5 separate regions of the Homo sapiens genome follow, and regions 1, 2, 3 and 4 are each linked to region 5. The links are contacts of gene promoters, found by promoter capture Hi-C in blood cells and fetal thymus (Javierre and others, 2016). All regions are on one chromosome and are shown on one strand. Each heading gives the region's core, a stretch centred on a gene start or on the middle of the fragment in contact. The rest is flanking DNA. Distances are from core to core; before and after follow the strand shown. Region 1 overlaps EED (embryonic ectoderm development). Region 2 has its middle 19 kb from the start of EED. Region 3 overlaps LINC02695 (long intergenic non-protein coding RNA 2695). Region 4 has its middle 16 kb from the start of LINC02695. Region 5 holds the start of DLG2 (discs large MAGUK scaffold protein 2).

Evidence for each region. Contacts are between HindIII fragments. The CHiCAGO score rates a contact against its expected background, and 5 or more counts as called.
Region 1: a fragment that was not itself captured here is called in contact with the fragment with the promoter of DLG2 in region 5 in 10 of 17 cell types (naive CD8 T cells, non-activated CD4 T cells, naive CD4 T cells and 7 more); the score reaches 13.0 in naive CD8 T cells.
Region 2: a fragment that was not itself captured here is called in contact with the fragment with the promoter of DLG2 in region 5 in 2 of 17 cell types (naive CD4 T cells and naive CD8 T cells); the score reaches 5.6 in naive CD4 T cells.
Region 3: a fragment that was not itself captured here is called in contact with the fragment with the promoter of DLG2 in region 5 in 7 of 17 cell types (non-activated CD4 T cells, naive CD4 T cells, activated CD4 T cells and 4 more); the score reaches 10.5 in non-activated CD4 T cells.
Region 4: a fragment that was not itself captured here is called in contact with the fragment with the promoter of DLG2 in region 5 in 7 of 17 cell types (activated CD4 T cells, total CD4 T cells, naive CD8 T cells and 4 more); the score reaches 11.4 in activated CD4 T cells.

The regions. Positions count from the first base shown.
Region 1 is chr11:86,268,359-86,271,170 of GRCh38, forward strand. It overlaps EED (embryonic ectoderm development), which reads left to right. Exons shown (of 12, transcript NM_003797.5): 9 at 98-203. Among named protein-coding and RNA genes, the nearest start is that of MIR6755, 8.6 kb to the right of the region's middle. The HindIII fragment of the contact is 6,326 bases long and covers 1-2,812 here.
Region 2 is chr11:86,224,590-86,227,289 of GRCh38, forward strand. No RefSeq gene overlaps it. Among named protein-coding and RNA genes, the nearest start is that of EED, 19 kb to the right of the region's middle. The HindIII fragment of the contact is 7,356 bases long and covers 1-2,700 here.
Region 3 is chr11:86,188,901-86,191,600 of GRCh38, forward strand. It overlaps LINC02695 (long intergenic non-protein coding RNA 2695), which reads right to left. Exons shown (of 2, transcript XR_001748524.2): 2 at 2,568-2,700. Among named protein-coding and RNA genes, the nearest start is that of LINC02695, 3.2 kb to the right of the region's middle. The HindIII fragment of the contact is 3,645 bases long and covers 1-2,700 here.
Region 4 is chr11:86,208,126-86,210,825 of GRCh38, forward strand. No RefSeq gene overlaps it. Among named protein-coding and RNA genes, the nearest start is that of LINC02695, 16 kb to the left of the region's middle. The HindIII fragment of the contact is 3,371 bases long and covers 1-2,700 here.
Region 5 is chr11:85,625,894-85,628,593 of GRCh38, forward strand. It overlaps DLG2 (discs large MAGUK scaffold protein 2), which reads right to left and starts at 1,451. Exons shown (of 28, transcript NM_001142699.3): 1 at 1,325-1,451; 2 at 694-860. It overlaps TMEM126B (transmembrane protein 126B), which reads left to right and starts at 2,700. Exons shown (of 5, transcript NM_018480.7): 1 at 2,700. RefSeq lists enhancers at 1,497-2,005, 1,878-2,037, 2,118-2,167, 2,308-2,497. The HindIII fragment of the contact is 9,013 bases long and covers 1-2,700 here.

The sequences.
Region 1 (2,812 bases), core at 85-2,584, 640 kb after region 5:
TTTGTTTTTCCAAGTTTTATAAATCCAAAAATGAAAAAGAGTATGATTCTACTATAATTTTTTCTTTTAACTTTTTACATTTCCATTCTTCCTTCAGGCCATTTATTTCTCAGAAAATCCATTTTCCTGATTTTTCTACCAGAGACATACATAGGAATTATGTTGATTGTGTGCGATGGTTAGGCGATTTGATACTTTCTAAGGTATGGTAACTGCAGTTAAGCTGTACTTCCATCGTGTGTGTGTGTGTGTGTGTGTGTGTGTGTGTATGTGTGTGCGCATGTTGGAACTTGGCAGGGAGCACTTTATGTAGTTTATTAAATTGAATGGCAGCTGGGAAGTTGCCTTTTTTAAAGTCTCATATTTTGATATATTTAGAAACTTGTTTTAAGAATAAAACATGCCATTGAATTATAATTCTTTGTGCTCCAGTAAGATGAGTATAGTTTTATAAGGTGATAGTATTCTCTGATAGTCAGTATTGTTACAAGATAACCAGTAACTAAAGCCAACAGAATTGGCTTTTGTTTTTTTGTATCTCTGTGACTATTTTAGTAAAATTTTATTTATAAAAACAGGTGGCTGGAGTTGGCTTATGGGCTGTAGTTTGCCAACCCCTGCCCCTGTTGATGGATTTATACAGATGCTCCTCAACTTATGATGGGATTACATCGTGATAAACCCATCATAAATTGAAAACGCATTTAATACACATAACCTACTGAATATCAGCTTAGCCCAGCCTATCTTAAATGTGCTCAGAATTAGCCTACAGTTGGGCAAAATTATCTAACACAAAGCCTGTTTTATAATAAAGCATTGAATATCTCACATACTGCATACTGCTAGCCCAGGAAAAGATCAAAATTCAAAATTCCAAGTACTTCAAAATTGCAGCTGTTTTGTACCATTTTGGTAAAGTTGAAAAATTGTAAATCAGACCATTGTAAGTCAAGGCCATCTGGGTGTGTGTGTGTGTGTGTTTGTGTGTCTGTGTATTTTTTTGTAGCTGATAATTTAGAGAAGCTATTGGTGATGTTACATGAGCATTTAGGATTATCAAATTTGGTGAAATTGCTGTCCGGTTTCTTTTCTTGATGTGAATTTCAGGCCACTTCACATTTTCTTGGGCAGAGCCTGATTTACTTTTTTCTTGGCTTTATGTGTAAACTGTTTTTTTCTTTTTTCTTTAAACTTTTGACCTTCAAATAACTTGATTCATAGGATGTTTCAAAGATTGTGCAGAGAGGTCCCATATGATCTTTATCCAGAATCCAAAGTTTATATATTATATAACTGTAATACAATATCAAATCCAGAAAATTGACACTGGTACAATGTGTGTGTTTAGTTTTATGTCATTTTATCACGTGAATTTTGTCATTTCAAGAATGGTACAGTTTGGGACCTTTTAAGATTGTTTTTTTCCACTCAAACCCTTGAGATCCATCCAGGTTGTTGCCTGTATCAGTAGTTCTCCTTTTTTATTGCTGAGTAGTATTCCATGGTATGGATTACCATAGTTTATGTAACTATCTATGGTAGGAGGTTTTGGTCATTTCCAGTTCTGGGCTATTGCAAATAAAGCTGCTAATCAGCAGTTGTGTCCAGGTTTTTGTGTGGACTTAAGTTTTCATTTCTCTGGGTAAATGCCTAGGAGGGCAATTGCTGGGTTGTGGTTAAGTTTGTTTAGTTTTTTAAGAAACTGCCAAACTATTTTCCAGAGTGGCCGTGCCATTTTACATTCCCACCAGCAATGTATGAGAGATCCAGTGTCTCCGAATCTTCGCCAGCATTTGGTATTGTCATTATTTTTTATTTTAGCTGTTCTGATAGGTGTGTAGTGATATCTCATCGTGGTCTTAATTTGCATTTCCCTGATGGCTAGTGATGTTGAACATCTTTTTCATGTGCTTATTTACCATTCGTATATCCTTTTTGGTGATGTCTTTTCATATCTTTTGCTCATTTTCTAATTGGATTGGTTTTTTGTTGTGTTTTTTTTTTTTTTTTAACTGTTGAGTTTTGAGAGTTTGAATATATTCTAAATATGAATCCTGTATCAGATACATAGTTTGCAAATATTTTCTTTCAGTCTGTAGCTTGTCATTTCATCCTCTTTAATAGGGTCTTTCACAGAGCAAATGTTTGTAGTTTTTATTAAATCCAGTATATTGATTTTTTAAAATTATTTTATGGATTATGCTTTTGATGTTTTGCCTGAGAACTCCTTACCAAGCTATAGACCTTAAAGATTTTCTCCTGTGTTCTCTTGTAAAAGTTTTATACTGCTATGTTTTACATTAAATGTGTAATCCATTTTGAGTTGATTTCCTTATGAAGGTGCGAGGTTTAGGTGGAAGTTCATTTTTCTCTTATAGATACTCAGTTGTTCCATCAGCATTTGTTGGAAGACTATTCTTCCGCCATTGAATTGCTTTTGCACCTCTCTCAGAAATTGTTTGGCTGTACTTACGTGGGGCTGTTTTTGATTTTCCTGTTCTGTTTCATCTGTATATCTGTCCCTCCACCAGTACTACATACACAGTCCTCATTATTGTAGCTCTATAATTATTCTTGGAATCTGATAGATTTTTCCCGCTTTTATTTTTTTCATAATTGTTTTGAGCTATTCTAATTCCTTTGTCTTTCTGTGTGTAAATTTTAGAATAATCTTTTCTACATTTCTAAAAATCTTGCTGGGAGTTGTTTTGAGGAGAAGGAGTTTTTAACTGGATTTGTATTAAACCTGTATATATAATTTCAAGGAGAATTAATATTGTGCTGAGTCTTCTAATCCATGATTGTGGTA
Region 2 (2,700 bases), core at 54-2,553, 600 kb after region 5:
GGGATCTAATTAAAGAGCTTCTGCACAGGAAAGGAAACTATCAATAGAGTAAACAGACAACCTACAGAATGTAAGAAAATTTTTGCAAACTATACACCTGACAAAGGTCTAATAATATCCAGCATCTACAAGGAACTTAAATTTACAAGAAAAAAACAAACAGCCCATTAAAAAGTGGGCAAAAAACGTGAACAGGCACTTTTCAAAAGAAGGCATATATGTGGCCAACAATCATTAAAAAACTCAACGTCACTGATCATTAGAGAAATGCAAATAAAAACCACAATGAGATACCATCTCACACCAGTCAGAACGGTTCTATTTTTTTTTAAGACAGAGTCTCACTCTGTCACCCAGGCTAGAGTGCAGTGGTGCGATCTCAGCTCACTGCAACCTCTGCCTCCCAGGTTCAAGTGACTCTCCTGCTTCAGCTTCCCTAGTAGCTGGGATTACAGGTGCATGCCACTGTGCCCAGCTAATTTTTGTATTTTTAGTAGAAACGGGGTTTCACCATGTTGGCAGGCTAATCTTGAACTCCTGACTTAAAGGGATCCACTCGCCTTAGCCTCCCAAAGTGCTGGGATTACATGCATGAGCCACCACACCTGACCCAGAATAGCTATTATTAAAAAGTCAAAAAATAACAGATGCTAATGAGGTTGTGGAGGAAAAGGAATGCTTATACACTGTTGATGGGAGGATAAATTAGTTCAGCCATTGTGGAAGACAGTGTGGTGATTCCTCAAAGACCTAAAAACAGAAATACCATTCAACAGAGCAATCCCATCACTGGGTATATACCCAAAGAAATATACATCATTCTGTCATAAAGACACATGCACATGTATGTTCATTGCAGCACTATTGACAATAGCAAAGGCATGGAATCAACCTAAATGCCCATCACTGGTAGACCGAATAAAGAAAATGTGGTACATATACACAATGGAATACTATGCAGCCATAAAAAAGAACAAGATCATGTCCTTTGAGGAAACATGGATGGAGCTGGAGGCCATTATCCTTAGCAAACTAATGTAGGAACAGAAAACTAAATACCACGTGCGCTCACTTACAAGTGGGAGCTAAGTGATGAGAATAAATGGTTACATAGAGGGAAAAAATACACACTGGGGCCTATTGGAGGGTGGAGGTTAGGAGGAGGGAGAGGATCAGGAAAAATAACTAATGGGTACTAGGCCTAATACCTGGCTGATGAAATAATCTGTACAACGAACTCCCGTGAAAGAAGTTTACTTGTATAACAAACCTGCACATTTACTCCTGAACTTAAAAGTTACATTTTAAAAACAAAATAACCTAAATACATAGATAAATAAAACAAAAAATGTTATGTGGGCCAAACAAAAAAAAACTATGCAGGCTGAAGCCTGGAGAACACAACTTTATGGCCTTTGATCTTTGTATAATTGATGGATTTGCTCTTAATTTTCAATGTTTTACAAAAATTACAAATGTTATCATTGATCTTTCATGTTCAGTAAGATCAAATGCATCTGGAGTATTAACAATGTTAGTAGGGAGAGACAGGCAATTAGTTTAAAAACAAAAATAGATGTAAAAATTGAAGATGATAAATGTATGTAGTGATGGGATAAATTGTTCAGGAATAATGACAATTCTGAGGAACAAATGTCTGATCATGCAATCACTCATATATCTATGCTATCAACAATAATAAGCAAGAAGAATAAAAAAATTGTCAGAAGGAAAGGCTTTATGGGTGTACAGCTAGAGAAGGAATATTAATGTCAGATGCCAGAATCAAGTTAATTCTGGATAAAAACATCATTTGTTTAGGAACTTGAGGACTGAACATGATAAAAATGCACCTGATGGAACTTTTTACATAGCCACACTTAAGTTCTGTAGTTTAAGGACATCATAGCTGCCAAGGAGATTTCTACACTTGCAGCCATCACCAAAGAGGGAGATTTCCTTCCTAAACATATGTTCAACGTGGTGGAAACTAGTATATGAGAAAAGATAGCTGAGAGATTGTACAGGAAGTAGAATAGAGCATGTCTAGTCTGTGATGTTGAAGGCAAACTAATTTTTTAAAGCAATAATTATAAATGTTTATAATTCAAATAGTATAAAAAAGACACACAGTAAAAACCAACTTTTCCTTCTTTCCTATACCCCCAGTTCCCTGCCTAAAGGTGACCTTTATTAGGAATTTAAATATTTCCTTTCATACACATAAGGGCACATTATACACACTGTTCTGTAACTTTTTTCCCATGTAATATATTTTGGAGATTGTTCTATATCAATTCATATAGATATACCTTATTTATTTTAAAGACTACATTATAGATATACTATAACTTATATAATCAATACCCCATTGATGGATCTATATTGTAGTCTTTTGCTATTACAAACAGTAAGTGTGCTGGTTCTCTTCAGAGAACTTATCTGGTGGAATTCCATCCAGGGCTTGCAAACATAAACATCTCTTAGTTCTTTTGGTCTTGCGAACAAATAAACTTAGAAAGAGCCATTTGGAAATGAACTTGTTTGTTACTAGAGAAGAACTGTGTGGAGAGAGGGCAAATGTGGCAGAATGCCCAGCAGAAAAACTAAATAGAAAATTAGGTCAGGATTGCTTCTCAGCCTTTTGACTAAGATCAAGTATAAAAATTAGGCTGGGTGCGGAGGCTCATGCCTGTAATC
Region 3 (2,700 bases), core at 173-2,672, 560 kb after region 5:
ATTGTGTAAGTATAGCACCTTTTGCTTATCATTTTATCAGCCAATGGACATCTGAGTTGTTTCTACCTTTTGACTATTATGAGTAGTGCTGTTATGAATATTTGTGTACAAGTTTTTGTGTGGACATATGTTTTCATTTCTCTTGGGCATATACTTAGGAGTGACATTGTCAAACGATAACTCTATTTTTAACTTTTTGAGGAACTTCCAGGTTGTGTTTTCGAAAGTGGCTGTACCATTTTATATTCCCACCAACAATATATTGAGGGTTCCCACTTTCCTATGCCCTCACTGACGCTTAGTGTGCTTTGCTTTTTTCACTCAACATTATTTCATAGATATGTTTCCATGTTCACTTGGTTATCATTTTTAATGGTTACACAGCGTTCCAAATCAGTTAGTTGGATATTATTTAAAAATTACTTTAAAGCTCAGGACTTGGATTGTTTTCATTTTGTGCCATTATAAATAGTGGTACTAGAATCTTCACTGCTTACTACATTTTTCCTTTAGCTTATGTCCTTGAGGTATGTTCCAAAGTGGAACAAAGGGCACATACAGCTCATGTACTGCTTCCCTGGTTAGTCTGCAGAAGAGTTGACTGTACCTAAAATGCTATCAGCAAAGTTTGCACTTGCCTTCCTCTCCACAGCCTCTGCCAACATAAGGCTTTGTTGCTTTATTTGTGTATATTAATGATATAGTTACTGTATTAGTCTGTTCTCACACTGCTAATAAAGACATACTTGAGACTGGATAATTTATAAAGAAAAGAGGTTTAATTGACTCACAGTTCCACATGGCTGGGGAGGCCTCATAATCATGGCAGAAGGCAAAGGAGAAGCAAAGTCATGTCTTACATGGTAGCAGGTAAGAGAGTTTGTGTAGGGGAACGCCCATTTATAAAACCATCAGATCTCATGAAACTTACTCTCTCCCATGAGAACAGTATGGGGGAAACCATCCCCATGATTCAGTTATCTCCATCTGGCCCGGCCCTTGACACATGGGGATTATTACAATTCAAGATGAGATTTGGGTGGTGACTGAGCCAAACCATATCAGGTATAGGTACATGATAGAATCTTATTTTTTATTTTTATTTTGAGACAGAATCTCACTCTGTTGCCCAGGCTCAAGTGCAGTGGCACGATCTTGGCTCACTGCAACCACTTCCTCCTGGGTTCAAGTGATTATCCTGCCTCAACCTCCCCAGTAGCTGGGAATTACAGGCATGCACAACCACATCCAGCTAATTTTTGTATTTTTTAGTAGAAATGAGGTTTCAGCATGTTGGCCAGGTTGGTCTCAAACTCCTGGTCTCAGGTGATCTGCCTGCCTCGGCCTCCCAAAGTGCTGGGATTACATGTGTGAGCCACCACACCTGGCCTGAATCTTAACAATCTTAGGCTGTTTCGATTTGTATTTCTTTCATTGTTGGTGAACTCACAATATTTTAACAGCCATCAGCTGTTACTCTAAGCCATCCATCCAAAAAAGCCAAGCAGTGCAGGAGAATCTAGGGCCATAGCAAAAGGCAGAAGATGGAGCTTAAAGAAATTCCCTGGGTTTGGGCAGGGCGTAGTGGCTCACGCCTGTAGTCCCAATACTTTGGGAAGCCAAGGAGGGGAGATCACCCGAGGTCAGGATGATCTCAGGTCAGGTTCGAGATGGTGAAACCTCATCTCTACTAAAAATACAAAAATTAGCCTGGGCGTGGTGTCAGGCACCTATAATCTCAGCTACTTAGGAGGCTGAGGCACAAGAATAGCTTGAACCCAGGAGGCGAAGGCTGCAGTGAGCTAAGATCGCACCACTGCACTCCAGCCTGGGCGACAGAGTGAGACTCTGTCTTTAAAAAAAAAAAAATTCCCTGGGTCTGGGAGCAGGCTCAGGAGGTATGTTTGATAGCGTGACTGCAGCCTCAGCTGTAGATGAAGAGGACACTGGTAATGATGCTGAACTGATTTAGACATCATATCCTTTTCCACGTTCTCCTTTCATTTGGCACTTCTCCTGGTTCTGCTTCTCCCTCCCTGGCCATTCCTTCTAAGCCTCCTTTCAGCATTTCTTTCCTTCTACCTGCTTCTTATACATCGGTATTAAATATAGGATTTCATTATTGGATCCTTCTTTTTTAACTTAATACTCTGGGCAATCTCATTCACCCCCATGGCGGTAATGACAATTTAAATGCTGAAAATTCCCAAATATGTATTGCCAGCCTAGACTACGCTCTTGAATTCCAGAAGCACATATCTAGTTTCCAACTGTATATCTCCATTTGAATGTCCTCTAGGCACCTTGAGTCCAGTATCTTCCCCTCCGATCACTCCTTTTTTTCCCCATATGCCCTACCTGTATGACTGTAGCAACATCAACCCAGTCACTGAAGCCAGAAATGTGGAAGGCACTCCAAACTCTTTCTTCTGCACCTACATATTCCTAAATGTGCACCTTCTTCTCCCTAAACCTATTACACGAATTTGATTAATGTTTCAACCATTTCTCCCAATAACTCTAGCATTGTTACATGTATTAGGGTTCTATTGGTTGCAACTCGTTGCTTCAGAAGGGAATGGAAGAAGATTTATTGGATGTATACTTGTGTGGAATGAAAGGAGAAACTGAGAAATCATTGTGGAGAGGCAGGCTTCAGAGTGGCTCCGGGGACCTCAGCAGCAAGCAGGTTGCTCTGGG
Region 4 (2,700 bases), core at 18-2,517, 580 kb after region 5:
GGTGAGCTGAGATTGTGCCATTGTACTCAGCCTGGGCAACAAGAGTGAAACTCCGTCTCAAAAAAAAAAAAAAAAAAAAAAAGAGAAAAGAAAGGCAAAAGACCTGAATAGACATTTCTCAAAAGAAGACGTATGAATGGCCAACAGGTATATGAAAAAATGGTCAACATCACTAATTATCAGGAAAATGTAAGTTAAATTAAAACCACAATGAGATATCACCTCACACATGTTCGAATAGCTATCAAAAAGACAAATGATAATACATGTTGGTGAGGATGTGGACAAAGGGGAACCCTTGTACAATGTGGGTCAGAATGTAAATTGGTACAGCCACTATGGAAAATCACGTAGAGGTTCCTCAGAAATTAATAATAGGACTACCTTATGACCCAGCAATCCCACTTCTGGATATATATCCAAAAGAAAGGAAATCAATATATTGAAGAGATATCTGCATCCCCACAATCATTGCAGCATTATTCACAACAGCCAAGACAGAAAATCAATCTAAGTGTCCATCAATGGATGAATGGATAAAGAAAATGTTTTACACACACACACACAATGTAATATTGTTCAGCCTTTCAAAATAAGGAAGTTCTGTCATTTATGACAATCTGGGTAAACCTAAAGGATATTATGCTAAGTGAGATAAGCCAGGCACTGAAAGACTACAGATACTACAGATCTCACTTATATGTGGAACTCATAGAAGCAGAGAGTAAAATGGTGGTTAACAGGGCCTGGGGGTAAGGAGAAAGGAATGGGGAGATACTGTCAAAGGGTAGAGGGTTTCTAACTGTTAGGATGAATAAATTCTGGAGATCTATTGTACAGCATAGTGATGATAGTTAAGAATACTGTATTGTATTCTGGAAAATTGCTAAGACAATAGATTTTAAATGTTCTCACTACAAAAAAGTTGTATGTGCAGTGATGGATATGTTAATTACTTTGATTTAATTATTTCACCACATATACATATATCAAAACCTCACATTGTACACTGTAAATATATATCATTTTTATTTGCCAACTATAGCTTAATAAAGCTAGGGGAGGGTGGAGAAGTACAGGTGATCTGATATTGCACGTAGCATCTGAAATGAGGGCAGCCTGTGGCTCTGAGCCCTTAAACCTGAAGAGTCAGAGGCCAACTCTGAGTAGTTAGTGCTAATTGAATTGGATTGTTGGACACCCAGTCAATTTCCAGAGACATGGAGAATTGGTTGGTGTGAGAAAACAACCCAAAAAGTTGGTGTCAGAAGTGCTGTAAGTAAAAACAGCTTACTTCTGGTAAAATGTACCCTACTAATTTTACTATTCTATTTATCTGGTAAAAAAAAATTAGTAGAATCTCATAGGTTCTGTGGGGTGTGTGTGTGTGTGTGTGTGTGTGTGTGTGTTCATGAGAAGTTTGGTTTGGTAGGTGCAGAAGTTTGGCTTTAGTGGATGTAGAAGTAAGTCTAGGGTTTTTTCCCTGAAATATTCCAGGTCTAGGTTTAGTCCTTGCTTTGTTCTTTCTCCTCGATATTCCATATTCCTTACTTCCTTCAAGTAAACTTCAAGTAAACTCACTGTTTTTGGAAACCAACATTGACCTCATTCAACTCAGTTACCTCTACTTGGTTCAGTCAAATACTCCAGTGTTTAACACATTCTGTAAGGCAGTGGAGAGCTGTGGAAAGGTTTTAAACCTTGAGAACATGGTAAAATTTACCACATGATTTTAGGTAATCACTTGGACCAGAGGTTGCATACCAGAGACTCAATGATAGAGGCTCTCTAGTGTAGTGCACAAAAAGCGCAAGTTCTGGAGTCAGCCAAACCTGAGGCCACATCTGGTTTTCAACACTTATTGGATGTATAACCTTGAACAAGTTACTCATTCTCTCCAAGCCTACATTTCTTCATCAAGGGCAATAGAAATCATTTTCAGTTAAGTCATGTTTGTAAAGCACTTAATGCAAACACTGGCATGTAGAAAGCACTCAGTAAATAGTAACTAGTAAGTTAATTGCTGTGTTGTTCTGTGAATGTTTTCTTTGTTGTTTCATGAGTCTTAACTGGATTTTAAACTCCTGGTCTGCATCTGTCTCTTTTACTTCCCACTAAGGGCACCTGATACAGTGTCTGACTAGATTCCATCCTAGACTCATTCCTTTTAGTCCAGGGCTGACCTGGTACAGTCCTGATTAGAAGGTTACTCAAATGTCATCCCGTTCCAACTCTGGGGCAACCTTATGTCAAAGGAAGGTAGACTAGGCCAAGGTGGTCTTTGACATCCACTTCTTTCTTTTTCATGACCCTGAAACCTTAAACTAGGATCACTTTAGGCTTCCCCTTCTGGACTCACACCTCACTCAATGCCACACTCCCACGCCACTCTTCTCCTGTCCACCTAGAATGAGTCCCTCGTTAAAACTGACTCTGGCCCGGCACAGTGGCTCACGCATGTAATCCCAGCACTTTGGTTGGCCGAGGAGTGCGGATCACTTAAGGTCAGGAGTTCGAGACCAGCCTGGCCAACATGGTGAAACCTTGTCTCTACTAAAAATACAAAAATTAGCCAAGCATAGTAGCACAGGCCAGGAGTCCCAGCTACTTGGGAGGCTGAGGCATGAGAATTCCTTGAACCTGGGAGGCGGAGGTTGCAGTGAGCCGAGATCACACCATGCATTCAAGCCTGGGTGACAA
Region 5 (2,700 bases), core at 201-2,700:
CCAAGTTCAGAATATAATCAACTATGCTTCAGGAATTCACTAGATCTTGATCAATTCCAATAATAAAAGTTGTTGAGGAGGGAGGAAAAAAACAGGTGTTTGCCCCATTTGGGGAACTTGACAATCATGTTATTGGATAATGCATATATCTGGAAAAGCACAATAGTCACGAAAGTTGTGCTTTATCACAAAAGTGAAGATTTACACTAGAATAAATCCAAATAATAAGTCTATTTTTTAACCAAAAGATAAATTATAAAGCTGTAATTTTGTTCAGTGCAAATGAAATTACTTTGCTACCTTTCACAATTCTGTAATTAGTTTGATAAATATTAAACCCATGAGGAAGAGCTCCACTGCACAAGTTTCTTTTTTAAAGACTGCTTAAAAGTAACCTTCAACAAGCTAAGAAAACAAGCTAAAGGAGACTCCAAATCTGCGGTACTGAATCTATTCTTATTACCAACGGTGATATAAACAACCTGATTTATGAAATCATAAATATCTATCAATAAATACTATAGTCTTGCTTCCTTTTACTTTAGTAAAATAATATTACTGAATTATGTACCACTGAAACTATATTACAATAAATATTTCCCCCAAACTGAAGCAAAACTTTACTCTCAAATGGAATATAATTTAAATTACAAGTACCAGAACCAACAAAAGGGAGAAATATTATATAGCAACCTTATGGCCCACCTGTCTTCTTGACTGGCATTCTTGGGTCTTTCCACTGCCACAGGAGTCAATATCTCTTTTCAGGTCTCAGTTTGATCCAGCTGGATTGAGGCCAAGAGCCAGGTAACTGTTGCAAACCACTTCAGTGTTCAGTTTTGAAATCCAGGCTGAGTCTTCTATGTCAGACAAAGAAAATAATGATGTATTTTTTCCACAACTAAACTTTTTACACCGCCCACAGAGTTTACAGCAACGTAATTTTTTAGTTTTTCAAGTTTTTCAATTTTCAGAAAATATTTAGACTGTTTTTACAAACTGGGAAAATTATTGTAAACATGAAGAACGTTACTGAAATTCCTCTTCAGGCAGCAACATTTTTGGAAGTTCAATGACTAACTCAATTAAGGCACAAACCAAATTTAGACAGGTCTCATTACTTTATACATGGTCAAATTCAAAGATGATGATAAAGATACTCAAATCTGTAGAGAAAAATGTAACCCCACCTCCCCAAAAATACTTTTAAAAATCTCTTTGACTCCAGTCTCTAAAAAGATAGGTGAGTTTGAACAGTTTTCTGTGGCAGAACACACATTGAAAGGCCCCCTTATATTTACTGATCAGAAGTTCCGGATCTCACCCCCTCAGTAACTCAGAATCCAGCTTGCTGTCCCTTTCATTTTTTTCTTCTGTGCTCTCCAAGCCCCCAGGCTTGATCCTTAATGCCCCTCTGATTCTGATCCTCCCATGTATTAACCGAGAGGATTGAAAAAAAAGGAAAGCAATCCCTTGGCATGGAGACATTAAAGTGACAGTGCTACTCAATGGGCACTTGATGCAGGATGAGTTGGCGAAGCAGATTTCTTCACACTGGAGTCATTCACATCATGCCATCTCTTCGCATTCAAGCAGCTCCCTATCCGGCGAGGAAAAACACTGAGACTTCGAGAGAAGCCAAACCTTCCCCCAAAGGTGTTTTCAGAGACGCCGTAGTAGTATTAGACATGTAAGCATAAGCTATGTAAACGGTCCGCGATTTCCTAAATGAGAAAGTGCAGCTGCTTGGCTTTCACATCCACCTTTTCTCTCAATCTCTCTTCAAACTACCCACCTTCCTTTTGCAGAAAAGACAAGACATTTCTTTGCCACCGCTGGCCACCCCTGCCCAAGCCCCGTTCTTTTAGGGAAGAGCACTGAAATGTCCTGCACCCTCCACGCGATGAAGTGTTTCCTCAGGCAGGAGCAACAGCAGCACTAGAAATTATATAACTCTCGAATTTGGCTTCTGTAAGACATGGAGACTGGAGGGTCGGGGGTTGCCGGTCTGGGAGATACTGCTGGGCATTTAACGTGCACAAAACAGCGCCAGGCCTTGCAGTGCCCCCCACCCCGAGACACGGCTGACAAGTGGGTCTTCTCGCGGGGGTAGTGGGCAAATTTCTCTCCGGTCTCTTTCCAAGCGGGGCTAAAGGATGCAAATTGAGGGGACTACAGACTGGGGAGAGGAGTCAGACGGCTGAGAGGAGAGGAGGCTAGTCGGGGCTGCTCTGACGGCGCTGGGCGGCTGGTCCGGGGTTTGGAGGAGGAGGTGCCCGAGAAACAGAGCTTTAACACCACACAGGCCAGGGCAAAGGGGCGAGTTCCCTCAAGGACTGAAAGGGGCAGGCAGCTAGTTCCCAGCTGCCCTGAGGAGAGGCAGGAGCGCAGTAACATTACAACATTCGGGCCGCCCCATCTTTCCCGCAGGACGCGAAGAGATCAGGGAGCTAAGCTGATAAATAGTCAGGGAAGGAAATACTCGGCTGGCGAGGGGGGCAGGCCCACAGGCGCCTGGACCTCCTCTAAGCGAATAAGTGGCCGTAATTTCTAGACGCCGCGCCCAATCACAGTCAGGATGGAGGGCGCGGCTTTTGACTGAGTGGGGGCGGGCCCGGGCTGCAATCGAGAGGCGTTGAGCCGTAAATCAGCACCACTTCCCGCCCAGGGCGTTCTGGGTCCCCGCCCACCGGCAAGTCA